5 separate regions of the Homo sapiens genome follow, and regions 1, 2, 3 and 5 are each linked to region 4. Evidence: promoter capture Hi-C in 16 types of primary human blood cells and fetal thymus (Javierre and others, 2016). All regions are on one chromosome and are shown on one strand. The core of a region is centred on a gene start or on the middle of the fragment in contact, and the rest is flanking DNA. Distances in the headings are between cores, read along the strand shown. Region 1 overlaps CHST8 (carbohydrate sulfotransferase 8). Region 2 holds the start of GPATCH1 (G-patch domain containing 1). Region 3 overlaps GPATCH1 (G-patch domain containing 1). Region 4 holds the start of CEBPG (CCAAT enhancer binding protein gamma). Region 5 has its middle 21 kb from the start of KCTD15.

Region 1 (2,700 bases), core at 85-2,584, 400 kb after region 4:
CTAAGGTTTCTCCTGGTTTTCACTTGCCCAGAGCCAGCAGTGGTTTTTGCTTCAGCCTTTATCTGACTGGTGCATGGAAGAGCAGTTTTCTTCCTAGTGGGGACACTAGGTTCACGGCAAAGGGGAGGTCCCTTTAGATTTCCTTCATTACGTTTCTTCTTTATTCGAAAGTGAACTTGTAGCCAGGTATGGTGGCTCGCACCTATAATTCCAGCCCTTTGGGAGGCCGAGGCAGGAGGATTTCTTGAGGCCAGGTGTTTGAGACCAGCCTGGACAACATAGCAAGACCCCATCTCTAACTATTTCTAAAATAAATGTAAATTTTTTTTCTTTTTCTTTATTTTATTTTATTTTTTTGAGACAAAGTCTCACTCTGTTGCTCAGGCTGTAGTGCAGTGGTGTGATCTCAGCTCACTGCAATCTCTGCCTCCTGGGTTCAAGTAATTTTCATGTCTCAGCCTACTGAGTAGCTGGGATAACAGGCATGCACCACCACACCCAGCTAATTTTTTTGTATTTTTAGTAGAGATCGGGTTTCACTATATTGGCCAGGCTAGTCTCGAACTCCCGGACTCAAGTGATCAGCCCATCTCAGCCTCCCAAGTGCTGGGATGACAGGCATGAGCCACCGTGCCCGGCAGTAAATTTTTAAAAATGTTAAAGTGAGCTTGTGGGGATAGGTCTAATCTTTGCCTGATAAGCTGCCGTAAGTCTAAGGGTTGGGAATAGCTTATGGCAAACTCAGGCTCTACTTAAGATGTTACTGATCTCTCTTACTCTCCACAAGGCAATTTTTCCTTTCAAAGGAGGAAGTTGCAGGCAGGTTGGCTTTATGGACACATGTAAACAGGAAATCAGGAGACTCGCCCAGCCCCAGGCTTTGTCTAGAAGGAACTTTTCCTCTAGTTAATGCCAAGGGCTCTAGCTCAGCGAGCATTAGAGTGGGACAGCCCCAGAAGCTTAGGCTCAGAGTCCAGAGGTCCAGGAGACAGTGTCCCCCTGTCCAGTCCTCACAGGTAAAATGGAACAGGACCACAGCCCACTGCCCTCCGAGGCTGTGGGGACAGTGCCAGTGGGAGGTCATGGCCTCAGGGGCTGCAACCTCAACAAGCACATGGCCTTCCATCTTCCCCCCGACTGGCAGGATCCCTTTTGGAAGTGGCTTCTCAGCCCCACTCTTGGCCAAATCTGGCATGACTCATTTGCTTTAGAAAAGGAATATATAAGCACCGTCACACCTTGATGAGATGACAGGAGTGACAAGCAGAGTGATTTCCCATATCTGAGACTCTGAGGAGGAGAGGTGGTTTAGCAGAGCCAGCTGCCATAACCAGAAGAAAATAATTAAGGAAATCTGGCAGAGTAGAGGAAAACCAAGTGGTGCAGCGGGTCCCTTCTAGTGAAGGGAGCTGTCATCATCGGCTGCGGGAGAGAAAGGAGCTCTGGAGGCTCGTGCTGGGACAGCTGCAGTAATGATGGGATGGGGAAGAGGAGGGGGTGGCTGTCAAGGAGGGAAATAGACTCTGGGCATGGCAGGGGGTGGCAATGAGCAGCTTGATTCTAAAGACTCCTCTCTCAGGCCAGGCACCTGCTACTTACACCCCACACCCTGAAGGGTGCAGCCAGGTCTACTTGGAGCTTCCCCTCAGTCTCCAGGGAAGAGTCTAGAAGGCCTGTTTCAAAGATCCCCCACATGCACGCATGTGCACATAAGCTTGGGAGTGCCCAGGAAGATGGGGACACTCTGCCCTTTGCCCAGGGGAGAGCATACCCTTGTTCCCAGCCCAAAGGGACAAGCGGAAGAAAGATGAAATGTGTCCCAGTTCTGCCTGCATTTCTGCCTCTCTTGGGACTTGAGGAAGGTTCGGGCAAGCTCAGGGAATTCAGGCTGTCCATTCCAGGGCTGACCTTGCATCTCCTTCCTGGCCTGCTAATGACTGAAGGAGACGTGCGGGCACGGCCTCAGCCTTACATTGTCTGGGGCATGGCAGTGGCTGAGTCTGTAAAACTGGACCTCATGGAGAAATCCACAGAATCTCTGGCTCAGGGAAGACCTGGAGATCCCTTCACCAGCTGGGCTCCTGCCACTGGACCTCTGCCCAGGACGTGGAGACAGCCAGGAAAGTGGTGGGACACTGGAACCCCCCTCCCGCAGGCAGCAGCCAGGATTTGCTCAGGTGTGGTCGGGCATGGTGCCCCGGCGCGCCAGCCAGAAGATCCAGCTCTCTCCTTAAGGGATAGCTGGCTCTGATGGTGACCATGGCTTTTGGCAGAGCCTCAGGACGAAAATGTCCACCCACATGGTACTGGAGCAGAAAGAGCCCCTGATTCCTCGGTGGCCAGGTAGGGACTGGGGAAGGAGGCTCCAGCTTCTAAATAGATTCCCCCCAAAGGGAATCTCCTTGTCCTCCTGCGACTTTCCCCCAAAGCAGACCAAATGAGGTATGACACAGAATATTCTGCTCTGGCCAAAGGTTCACCTCACCAGAGCTTGCTTCTTAGGTGAGCCCAGCCCAGGCATGGGCCTCCTTGGTAGGCAGAGGGGGCGTTCCAGAGCATGGCCATTGATGCACTGGTCTCTCTGTGTCTTCCTGAGGTCATCAGTAAGTTAACGCTGGACAATTACCCTCTACCTGGGCGCTGCTTAGGGCTTTGGGGGAGACCAGGGCGAGCAAGATATGCTTAGCTCACCCCAGAACT
Region 2 (2,700 bases), core at 8-2,507, 290 kb before region 4:
AGCCTGGCCAACATGGTGAAACCCAGTCTCTACTAAAAATACAAAAAAAAAAAAAAAAAAAAAAAAAAATGGCCGGGTGCGGTGGCTCACATCTGTAATCCCAGCACTTTGGGAGGCCAAGGTGGATGGATCGCCTGAGGTGGGGAGTTCGAGACCAGCCTGACCAACATGGACAAACCCCGTCTCTACTAAAAAAAAAATTACAAAATTAGCCAGACATAGTGGTGCATGCCTGTAATCCCACCTACTAGGGAGGCTGAGGCAGGAGAATCGCTTGAACCCGGGAGGCGGAGGTTGAGGTGAGCCGAGATCGTGCCATTGCACTCCAGCCTGGGCAACAAGAGTGAAACTCTGTCTCAAGAAAAAAAAAAAAAAAACCACCACAACAACCAACCAACCAAACAAACAAAAATTTAGCAGGGCGTGGTGGGGTGGACGCTTATAATCCCAGCTATCAGGAGGCTGAGGCAGGAGAATCACTTGAATCTGGGAGGCGGAGGTTGCAGTGAGCTGAGATCGCGGCCACTGCACTCCAGCCTGGGCGACAGAGCGAGACTCTGTCTCAAAAAAAAAAAAAAAAAAAAAGGGAATAACACCAGGGCCTACTTGAGGGTGGACCTACTTGAGGGTGGAAGGTACGAGGAGGGTGAGGATCGGAAAAACTACCTATTGGGTACTATGCTTATTACCTGGGGAGGAAATAATCTGTAACCCAAATCCCTTGCGACATGCAATTTACCTATATAACAAACTTGCACATGTACCCCTGAACCCAAAATAAAAGTAAAAAATAATAATAATAAAAATAAAGCGAAGCCCCACGGGGCGAGCATGAAATCTGGGAGCTCAGCCATTTCCCTGGAGGTGGCTGGGTGGGCGGTGGGAGTGGACGGGGCTGGGCAGTGACTGCTGCCAAGGCAGGGGGCTGGCGCGAGGGACGGGGGTAGGGGGCTGGGCAGGCATCGGTGTCGCCTCGCAGGGAACAGTTGGGTGGCTTCCAGCTTATGCCAGGAGTCTCCTCCTCACCCGCACATCGCGGGGCTAGGATGGGATGTCGTGGCTGCCAAATCCTCCGAGGCAACTCCTGCCTGGGACGGCCTACCACAGGATGGGCCTGAGAATCCGGAGCGCAGGCTCGGGCCGCTAGGACACCTTCCCCCGCCCGCGGACCCAGCCTTCCAGCATCACCGGGGTTCGCGGAGGAGAAAGAGGAAAGGCGTTTGGCCTGCCAAGGCCGCCGTAGCGAGGGGGCGGGGCCCGGAAGAGCAGGATGGCGGCGCGGGACAGTGACAGCGAAGAAGATCTGGTCAGCTATGGGACCGGGCTGGAGCCTCTGGAAGAAGGTGCGGGCCGCGTGGGCCGGCGGAGCCTGTGGAAAACAGGCCAAGGGCCCAGGATTCGGGCCACAAAAGCACAAGTCGGTGCTGGACCATTGTTAGATCGTTCCCAGCGCTGGGAACACGGCGACGAGGGAGGCGTTAGCCGCGCTCTCGGGGTGCTCACCTTCTGCAGCGACAGAGAGAGGTTTACAGGGACGGGAGACACAAGCGTGGCCGAACAAGGGGGCGGCGAGATAGAAACAAGAAAATGACGGAATAGCTAGTGTGAGAGCGGGGGGTGCTCAGGCAGTGTCTTCCCCGAGAGAGGACGTTTGAGCTCAGACTTGAAACCGAGGAAGAAAACAACCATGAGCAAATCTGGAGGGAAAGCATTTCAGGCAGAAGGAACATAAAGTGGCAAAGGCCCTGAAGTGGGAGCCAGTTTAGGAAATTGAGGGGCAGGCAGGACGGGTATGGTTGCAGCAGATGACAGCGGGGGAGACAGGTAGAAAAGAATGTCAGAGGGGCTGACAGGGGCTGGATCTTACTTGGTAGGGTAAAGAGTTTGGATCTTGTACTAAGTGCAGGATTAGGGTTAGGGTTAGGGTCATGGGAAATTACACAGGGAGGGATATATATATGATTTTTAGAGACAGGGTTTTGCTCTGTTTCCCAGGCTGGTCTTGAACTCCTGACTTCAAGTGATCCTCTCGCTTCTGCCTCCCAAAGTGCAGGGATTACAGGCTTGAGCCACTGTGCTCGGCCAATTTTTAATGTTATTCTATCTTTGATGTTGAGAATACACTGGTTGGGGATGGGTAAGAGTGAAGCAGGGAGATTAGCAAAAAGAGGTCAGGAGATGATGGTGGCATGGATGGGACAGCAGTGGTGGTGGTGTGTAGTGGTCTGGGTGGAGATATATTTTGAAAGCAGAGCTGACCATACTTGCTGGTGGAATGTGGGGGTGAGGGGCAAGATGAATCAAGGTTCTCTCCTGTGTTTCTGGTCTGTTCCACTTAACGACTTGACTTGTTCAGCAAGTTATGTATTGAGTGTCCAGTAAGGGCTGTTGGCTGTGCTAGCCCTGTAGGGAAGGCAGAGGAAGAATGGTGGAATCATTGGGCCACAATTTATTTGCAGACCTCCTGTTGGTGGGGGTCCCCTCCCTTTTTTCACCCTGACCACATCCTGCCAGGTTGATTGTACTTCTGGGATATCTCCACTTATGCCCCCTTTATTTCCTACAAACAGTTCTGGTGGAAACTTCTGCTGGATACTGGCCCTTCTTCTACCCTCGGCTTACAAAAGGTTGAGAAAGGGGCCAGGCACAGTGGTTCACACCTGTAATCCCAGCACTCTGGGAGGCTGAGGTGGGAGGATT
Region 3 (2,700 bases), core at 191-2,690, 260 kb before region 4:
AGCTGCTTCTTGTTCTCTGCCCCCGCAGATGCTCTGGAACGCTGTCTGGACCCCAGCATGACAGAGTGGGAGCGAGGCCGTGAGCGGGATGAGTTTGCCCGGGCGGCCCTGCTGTACGCATCTTCCCATTCGACCTTGTCCTCCAGGTTCACTCACGCCAAGGAGGAGGATGACTCAGATCAGGTTGAAGTCCCTCGAGACCAAGAGGTCTGTTGTCACCATGTCCCTTACCTGGTGAACTTTAATATTAAAGCACTGCCTAGCCAAAATAGTTTTTTCCTTTTTTTTGAGACGGAGTCTCTCTCTGTCGCCCAGGCTAGAGTGCAGTGGTGTGATCTCGGCTCACTGCAGCCTCCGCTTCCTGGGTTCAAGCGATTCTCCTGCCTCAGCCTTCCAAGTAGCTGGGATTACAGGCGCTCGCCACAACAGCCATCTAATTTTTGTATTTTTAGTAGAGATGGGGTTTCACCATATTGGCCAGGCTGGTCTTGAACTCCTGACCTCAGGTGATCCACCCGCCTCGGCCTCTCAAAGTACTAGGATTACAGGCATGAGCCACCATGCCCGGCCGAGCCAAATATTTTTAATCCCTTGGTGAGAAGATCAAAATATACATGTATAGGAGAATAGGAAACCATTTTATGCCTTAGTTTCCAATGTACTGGAGCATAAATGTTATAGCACAAACTTTTTTCACAGTTCTAGAAGATTGCTTGAAAATTTTAAATGGGAGAGCAGTCAGGTCAGTGGTGCGGCCACTTGATGGAACAGAATGCATGTCTTTTTCCAGAATGATGTCGGGGATAAGCAGTCGGCTGTGAAGATGAAGATGTTTGGGAAGCTCACCCGAGACACGTTTGAGTGGCACCCTGACAAGCTTCTATGTAAGAGATTTAATGTCCCTGACCCTTATCCAGAGTAAGTTGGATAAACCTTTACATCAGTACAAAATGTATTCTTGATATTAAAGCTAATTTTCCCCTTACATACTCATATAAATTCTTATTTTTTCTACATGAACTTATTTGCATATCACTGGATATACAAATCTACACATTTTATAGATTTGCTTTGATAAATTACTTCTATAATTTGTTACTAAAACAAAATCTGGATAGCAAACTTTATTCCATATTGAAGCTATGAAACTCAGATATGTCAAGTTACAAAAGCATTATGCCTCTCTCATTTGCCACCTTCTTGTTGCTGCTCATGTGGTTTACATTTATAATGTTACTTATGTTTTTAAATTATCATTATAAAAGTTAAACACTTTCTTATTTGATTAATAACACTTCAAGAGGTGGGGTGTGGTGGTGCACACTTGTAATCCTAGCTTGGGAGGCCAAGGCAGGAGGATCGCTTGAGCCCAGGAGTTCGAGGCCAGCCCGGGTAACATAGTAAGACCCCATCTCTAAAAAATCAAACAAACAAACAAACAAACAGAACACTTCAAGATAGTAGGCCGGGTGCAATGGCTCACGCCTGTAATCCCTGTATTTTGGGAGACTGAGGCAGGCAGATCACTTGAGGTCAGGAGTTCAAGACCAGCCTGACCAACATGGTGAAACCCCGTCTCTACTAAAAATACAAAAAATTAGCTGGGCGTGGTGGTGCGTGCCTATAGTCCCAGCTATTTGGGAGGCTGATGCAGGAGAATTGCTTGAACCTGGGAGGCGGAGGTTGCAGTGAGCCAAGATTGTGCCATTGCACTCTAGCCTGGGTGACAAGGCGAGACTCAATCTCAAGAGAAAAAAAAACAAAACAAAAAGATAGCATATGTGGTCAAACCAGAGACTGTCAGAAACTTTAGGTATATTTTTATCAGTGGAGCTTTTCCTTAATGGAAATCCATTTTGAAAGTTAAATTCTTGTCCTTATCATAATAAGGAAAATCTCATGGGACCTAAAATCAGTCACCCAGATTCTCGAACTGCTTTGAGAAGTGAAAGCATCTTAGGAGACTTTTTAGTCATGCAGAAGAGGTGGAAAACTTGAGATGGAAAGCTTTTCAGGAGGTGGATTTTGTCCTACTGGTTGTTACTAAAATGATTCTTTTTTCAATTCCCAGTTCAACTTTAGTTGGCTTACCAAGAGTGAAGCGTGACAAGTACTCAGTCTTCAACTTTCTGACGCTCCCAGAGACAGCTTCCTTGCCCACCACTCAAGCATCAAGTGAAAAAGTATCACAGCACCGAGGTCCCGACAGTGAGTAGGGCGTCCCCGGGGTCTCTGATTGACCAGGGCCTCAACCCCTAGCCTGTAGGAAGACAGAATTAAAGGGTAGTTTAGTCCTAACAATGTGAATGGTGCATATTCTCCCTCCATTGAGGGAATTACTCTTACTAATAACTTAGCTCATGTTGTAATGGTCCAGATGTTTACTCTTTGGGGTTGGGGCTCTGTCTCTGCCTCTGCCACCTACCTCCCCAGGACCCTACACAGTGCCAGGCCCCTAGTAGGCACGCTGACATTCTGAGTGAATGAAAGAGCAGTGGTGAAGAACTGGCCTTTTCCTTGCTAATGCTGGAGTTTATATCTATGTCCTGCCTTTCAGAATCAAGAAAACCATCCAGATGGGATACCTCTAAACACGAAAAGAAAGAAGATTCCATTAGTGAATTTTTAAGTTTGGCTAGATCAAAAGCCGAGCCACCTAAACAACAGTCCAGCCCCTTAGTAAACAAAGAGGAAGAGCAT
Region 4 (2,700 bases), core at 151-2,650:
TGCCTCGGCCTCGCAGAGTGCTGGGATTACAGACCTGAGCCACCGCGCCCAGCCCATTGTTCACCGTTGTGACCCCTTTTAATTTTTATTTATTGCTTTATCATCTTACTGATTCCTCGAAACAATCTTACGGGGCGAGCCGGTTCCATGGGCGCTGAAGAAACATTTCCTCTTTCAAAGCCTCAATTGTTTGAACGATACGCGTTGCTAAAGAGGAAGCAATTAAACCTATCAGGCGAGTTCTGCCCTCCGCCCAGCGAGCTGCTGCTTCCTGGTGTTAAAACGCTTTCGGGGCCAGGCGCGGTGGCTCACGCCTGTAATCCCAGCACTTTGGGAGGCCGAGGCGGGCGGATCACGAGGTCAGAAGATCGAGACCATCCCGGCTAAAACGGTGAAACCCCGTCTCTACTAAAAAAATACAAAAAATTAGCCGGGCGTAGTGGCGGGCGCCTGTAGTCCCAGCTACTTGGGAGGCTGAGGCAGGAGAATGGCGTGAACCCGGGAGGCGGAGCTTGCAGTGAGCCGAGATTGCGCCACTGCACTCCAGCCTGGGCGACAGAGCGAGACTCCGTCTCAAAAAAAAAAAAAAAAAAAACGCTTTCGGGTTCTCCTGGCGAGTTTTAAGTCACACTGGATCGCTGCTTATTTTCAGAGATCACCTCGCACCCATGCACCTGGAAGGCACCCAAAGAGAATCATTTTAAGAAATTCACTTCATCTCACCCTAACAACAAAGCACAGCCTGCAGCACATGGATTTCACCCATGTGACATCAATGCTAATCCTATGTGTGAAACATCTGGGTTCATTCGATTTTTTAAAAATTAGTAACTGAGATGGGGTCTCGCTATGTTGTCCAGGCTGGTTCTCCAACGCCTGGGCTCAAGCCATTCTCCCGCCTCGGCCTCCCTCGGCGCTGAGATTATAGGCGGGAGCCACCGCGTCAGCCTCCACTCTTTTTGCGGCGACAAAGCCCGCCCGCCTGCGGGGCGTTCCGTTCGCAGAAACTCTGTGAGGGACGCCGCGGGGGCTTCCAAGGGACGCGGCGAAACCAAAACAGTCGCCGGTGGTTCACAAAACCACCTCAGAAAATGCTTCCAAAGGCACGTCTGGCCTCCACAAGGTGACGGCTTTTCAGCCTCCGACTCGAACTTGAGTCGTCCACAGCACTAGGCCGCCGCCAGCCCGGGCGAGCTGCCTAGGGACCGCGGACGCCGCAGCAAGCAGCTCCCTGCTCCCGCCACACCCGCCGAGCCAGCCGCGCGGAACCCACTCCCCCACCGTGGGCCCGCCTCCCGCCGCCAGCCTGCCCACGATTGGTCGACTGGGCTGCCCGTCGCGAGAGAAGGCGGTGCCTCCGGCAGGCCGGCGCTCCCATTGGCCGGGATGGCGGCGGCGGCGCGCGCGGCCCCGGCGAGCAGGGGAAGCCGGTGGCCGCGGCTGCGGAACGGGCGGAGGCTGCCGGTTTCGTAACCGTCGCTCCTCCTCGCTGACTCGCGGGCTGTGAGGCCTGGGTCGGCTCGGGCCGCACCGCGCGGGGCCGCTCGGAGTGGAGGCCGCCTGGGGGCAGGCGGGCTAGAGGAGCAGGTAAGGAGGCTGCGGCGGGCGCCCTGAGAACGGGGAGGAGGAGGCCGCGGCGACGCCGGCCGCTCGACTGGGTGCGGGCCCGGCTCGGGGAAACCCAGCCCCGGCCCCAGACGGCCCGCTGGCCCGGGAAGGCCACGCGAGGCTGGAGGCGCGGGCGGCGGCGCCGCGCGGCGTCTGATGCAACCTGCCGGCAACACCCGGCGGGGACGCTGAGCTCATTCCTGGCCGCGGCCCAGCGCTGCGGCGCCGCCCGTCGACCCCCGCGCTGCCCGGGGCGCCCCTCGCGGCGGGCCGGGAGCGCGCGAACGGCCGGGGAATGCCCCCTGCGGAGCCCGGCCCCCTCTCGGTGAAACGGGCGCTGTGACCCGCCAGGCTCGCATTGGCCCCTGGGGATGAAGGGTGTTCCCAGAATAGCAGAAGGTGGACCGAGTCGAGCTTTAGAATCCTGATCTTCTAGAAGGGCTCAGCTTGCGGTGATCGAAAATCTGTTCAGAAGTTCAAAGACTGATCAATAAAATAGGGAAAGCAACTGGTTTTTAAATGCATGACTTTGCAGAGATAATATTTTGCTTCTTTGTGGAGCTGTTGGAATGTCCTGCACTTTACTGTTGAACGTAGTTTAGAAGAACACGCAACACCTACGGGTCGAATAGAGAAGAAATGAAGCACTTCGCAGGCATAGTTGGAGGGAGCGGAGCAGGGCCGACAGCCAGCGGAGGTGACCAGATGCGAAGGATGGAAATGCATGTGTCGCGGGGGGAGGAGAGTGTTTTCCAGGGCAGCTGGTGTGTTGCTTCTCTTCCGCAGGTTTACGTGTTGGGTTTTCCTCTTGTTTGAAGTTTATACTGTAATCTGGCATCCTGAAATGTATAAGATTTAGAAAGGTCTCAATGTTGATGGGTGACACCAAAATTGGTAGTTGTGTCAGAATTGACTGCTTATATGAATAGGTTGTCACTTAAGGCAGACTTCTCCCAAAGAAATGTGACTCCCAGAGAAAATTTTAAAAGAAAATCCTATAAGGGCTTGCTTTACGAAGACATTCTACACCTAGAAGCTCTTGATATTTAAGATGTGGTCATCTGTTAGCCCTTGAGTAGTATTTGGGATAAG
Region 5 (2,700 bases), core at 128-2,627, 440 kb after region 4:
TTCAGGAGGTTGAGGCTGCAGTGAGCCATGTTCACACCACTGCACTCCAGCCTAGACAACAGAGCAAGCCCCGTCTCAAAATAAATAAAATTAAAAAGAGAAAGCATGGCTGGGTGTGGTGGCTCACACCTGTAATGCCAGCACTTTGGGGCCAAGGTGGGTGGATCCCCTGAGGTCATGAGTTCAAGACCAGCCTGGCCAACATGGCAAAACCCCGTCTCTACTAAAAATACAAAAAAAAAAGGATTAGCTGGGTGTGCTGGCATGTGCCTGTAGTCCCAGCTACTCGGGAGGCTGGGGCACGAGAATCGCTTGAACCCGGGAGGCAGAAGTCGCAGTGAGCCGAGATCGCACCACTGCACTCTAGCCTGGCGACAGAGCGAGGCTCCATCTTAAAATAAAAAAATAATTAATTAAAAAAAAAGGGAAGCACAGATGTGAGAAATGGGGAAACTATATCCATTGAGCCACTGACCAAGATAATATTTAACTTGACTAAGCCTAGCAGAGCCTGCCCACTTCCCCTCCCTAGAGGCCAACCCATGTTCTCGAGGCAATGCTGTCTGCCAAGATGGCCCCATCCCATCAAGCCCTGCCTTCCCTCCTGATTCTCCAGAGACAGGAAAATGGCTGCATTGGCCCTGGAAGATACTCAATTTCTCCTAAGTAGATGACAAGGTGGAAAATACAAAAATGGGAAACTGCCAGGGGATATTCAGTTGGAGGCAGGAAATCTGCCTCAGTTCAAAACAATAGGGAGGTCTAGACAGAGCTAGAGGGACAACTGATGGCCAGAGAAGGCAGCCGCTGGCCTGGATGGAGTCTGACATCTGGGCTGATGTAGCTGTTGTAGGAAGTAGGATGTCACAGGTTGATGGCCATCTCAAGGGGGGTAGGCAATGTGTTTAGCCACAAGGCTCAAGTCAGCCAAGTAATATTGGTCTTGTCACATGTGTGATGAGAATGTGGGTGGCTCTCTTTGCTCACCCCAACCCCGCCCAAAGGAGGAGTTTCCTTGTAGAGAGAGGGCTTGCCCTCACCTGGAGATCAGGGGCTGGCAGCTGTCTTATCTCTGATGGAAGATTTGATGTGGAGTTACCTGCACTGAAGAGTCTGGGTCACTGTATAGGGTAAAAGCCCACATCGTTAACTGCCACAAATTTTAAAATTTTCTACAAATGGATTTGCTTAGAATGAATGGTAAGAAAAGGGTCAGGTGCAGTGGCACACACCTGTAATCCCAGCACTTTGGGAGGCCAAGGTGGGTGGATCATTTTAGGTCAGGAGTTCGAGACCAGCCTGGCCAACATGGTGAAACCCTGTCTCTACTAAAAATACAAAAATTAGCCAGGCATGGCGGTGCGTGCCTGTAGTTCCAGCTACTCGGGAGCCTGAGGCAGGAGAATCGCTTGAACCTGGGAGGCAGAGGTTGCAGTGAGCCGAAGTCTCACCACTGCACTCCAGCCTGGGTGACAGAGTGAGACTCCTTCTCAAAAACAGGAAAAAAAAATGGTAAGAATAGAAAGATGATATTAATGCATATGTGTCAAAAGCAGCTCCTGCCTTTATTAGTGAGAAGTTTCTCATTAGATCAAATGAAGTTTCTTGTCAGTATCCAGAGAAACCTACAAAGGCATCACAAAGATAAAGCTCTAACGTCCAACATAAAGCCCGAGACAAAAGATGGTCTAGAGCACCTGCTTGGAGGAAGGTCTATCCAGGAACAACTGTATTTAGGTTAAACTGCTAAATTCACCAACTAGGGCAGAGAGGCACAGAAACATTCCCTCCAGAACCCCTTTCCATTAAGAGTTCACTCCTGTCACCACATTCTAGGCAGCCCCGATGTTCTCTGGAGGACCGGTGAGGTAAGGTAATGCTTTGTGGACTAACAGAAAGAAAAAAGTGTTGGTGACAGCTAAGGGCAGCTTCCTGCCAGCACCAAGACTAGCGCTGATGTTCTCTTAGAAGCACCAGAGTTTTCTAAGGTGACCCAAATGGAACACAACCCCAGGGAAGGTTGAAAGTCAGAAAAGAAGAGCGCGTCTCTGCTCTTTCTGGATCTCACAACCAGCGAGTTCTCGCAGCCATGGCCTCTGTAAGCCCAGGGACATTTCTCTGTGAGCTTTCATTGGAAGGGAAACCCCAGCCCCAGAGAAGCCTACCCCGCCACATCCCAGGCTAATCCCTGGATCTGGTTCAGGAGCTCTCTTCCTGCAAGCCCCAAAGCTAGACAAGCAGAGCCCTGCCAGGCCCATGGTGACCTCTGCAGACCTAGGAACTGCAGGCAGAGTTGGGGGCTCGTTCCTGGGGAGGGGCCCACCCCTGAGGTTGTGCATCCAGGAGGGGCCCACCCCTGAGGTTGTGCATCCAGGCATGACTGACTGTTGGTAGCTGTTTACCCTCAGGGAAAGAGAACTTTCTGTGTTTTTATCTCCACCCCCAGTGGAAGGATATGTTGAGTAGAGTTTTTGCTTTTTGAGGAAAAGTCATGATTTGGAAAGGGGCGCTGATGTATCTGTTGAGGCTTTGGATGTTGATTTTTAAAGGGTCCCTGCTTCCCTGCAAAGATCCTTATCTTCACAACCACCCAAGAGCACCACTTATTGGTGGCCAGCATATGCCAAGCACTGCAGGTGCTTGGGAGGGCAAGATAGCTCATGAGGCTTGGAGCAGACATTTGTTTATGCACAGGAATTG

The links. Contacts are between HindIII fragments. The CHiCAGO score rates a contact against its expected background, and 5 or more counts as called.
Region 1: a fragment that was not itself captured here is called in contact with the fragment with the promoter of CEBPG in region 4 in 2 of 17 cell types (M2 macrophages and endothelial precursors); the score reaches 6.6 in M2 macrophages.
Region 2: a contact is called between the fragment with the promoter of GPATCH1 here and the fragment with the promoter of CEBPG in region 4, in 5 of 17 cell types (neutrophils, activated CD4 T cells, naive CD8 T cells and 2 more). The highest score is 12.3, in neutrophils.
Region 3: a contact is called between a fragment that was not itself captured here and the fragment with the promoter of CEBPG in region 4, in 1 of 17 cell types (neutrophils). The highest score is 7.6, in neutrophils.
Region 5: a contact is called between a fragment that was not itself captured here and the fragment with the promoter of CEBPG in region 4, in 1 of 17 cell types (monocytes). The highest score is 6.4, in monocytes.

What each region holds. Positions count from the first base shown.
Region 1 is chr19:33,768,113-33,770,812 of GRCh38, forward strand. All of the region lies in intron 3 of CHST8 (carbohydrate sulfotransferase 8), which reads left to right. Among named protein-coding and RNA genes, the nearest start is that of KCTD15, 27 kb to the right of the region's middle. The HindIII fragment of the contact is 755 bases long and covers 958-1,712 here.
Region 2 is chr19:33,079,924-33,082,623 of GRCh38, forward strand. GPATCH1 (G-patch domain containing 1) reads left to right here and starts at 1,258. Exons shown (of 20, transcript NM_018025.3): 1 at 1,258-1,343. The coding sequence starts at 1,271. RefSeq lists an enhancer at 1,153-1,482. The HindIII fragment of the contact is 10,253 bases long and covers 1-2,700 here.
Region 3 is chr19:33,111,696-33,114,395 of GRCh38, forward strand. GPATCH1 (G-patch domain containing 1) reads left to right here. Exons shown (of 20, transcript NM_018025.3): 12 at 29-207; 13 at 791-918; 14 at 2,072-2,208; 15 at 2,558-2,700. Among named protein-coding and RNA genes, the nearest start is that of WDR88, 19 kb to the right of the region's middle. The HindIII fragment of the contact is 1,130 bases long and covers 876-2,005 here.
Region 4 is chr19:33,372,309-33,375,008 of GRCh38, forward strand. It overlaps CEBPG (CCAAT enhancer binding protein gamma), which reads left to right and starts at 1,401. Exons shown (of 2, transcript NM_001806.4): 1 at 1,401-1,587. RefSeq lists a silencer at 1,188-1,997. The HindIII fragment of the contact is 8,186 bases long and covers 1-2,700 here.
Region 5 is chr19:33,816,347-33,819,046 of GRCh38, forward strand. No RefSeq gene overlaps it. Among named protein-coding and RNA genes, the nearest start is that of KCTD15, 21 kb to the left of the region's middle. The HindIII fragment of the contact is 3,637 bases long and covers 1-2,700 here.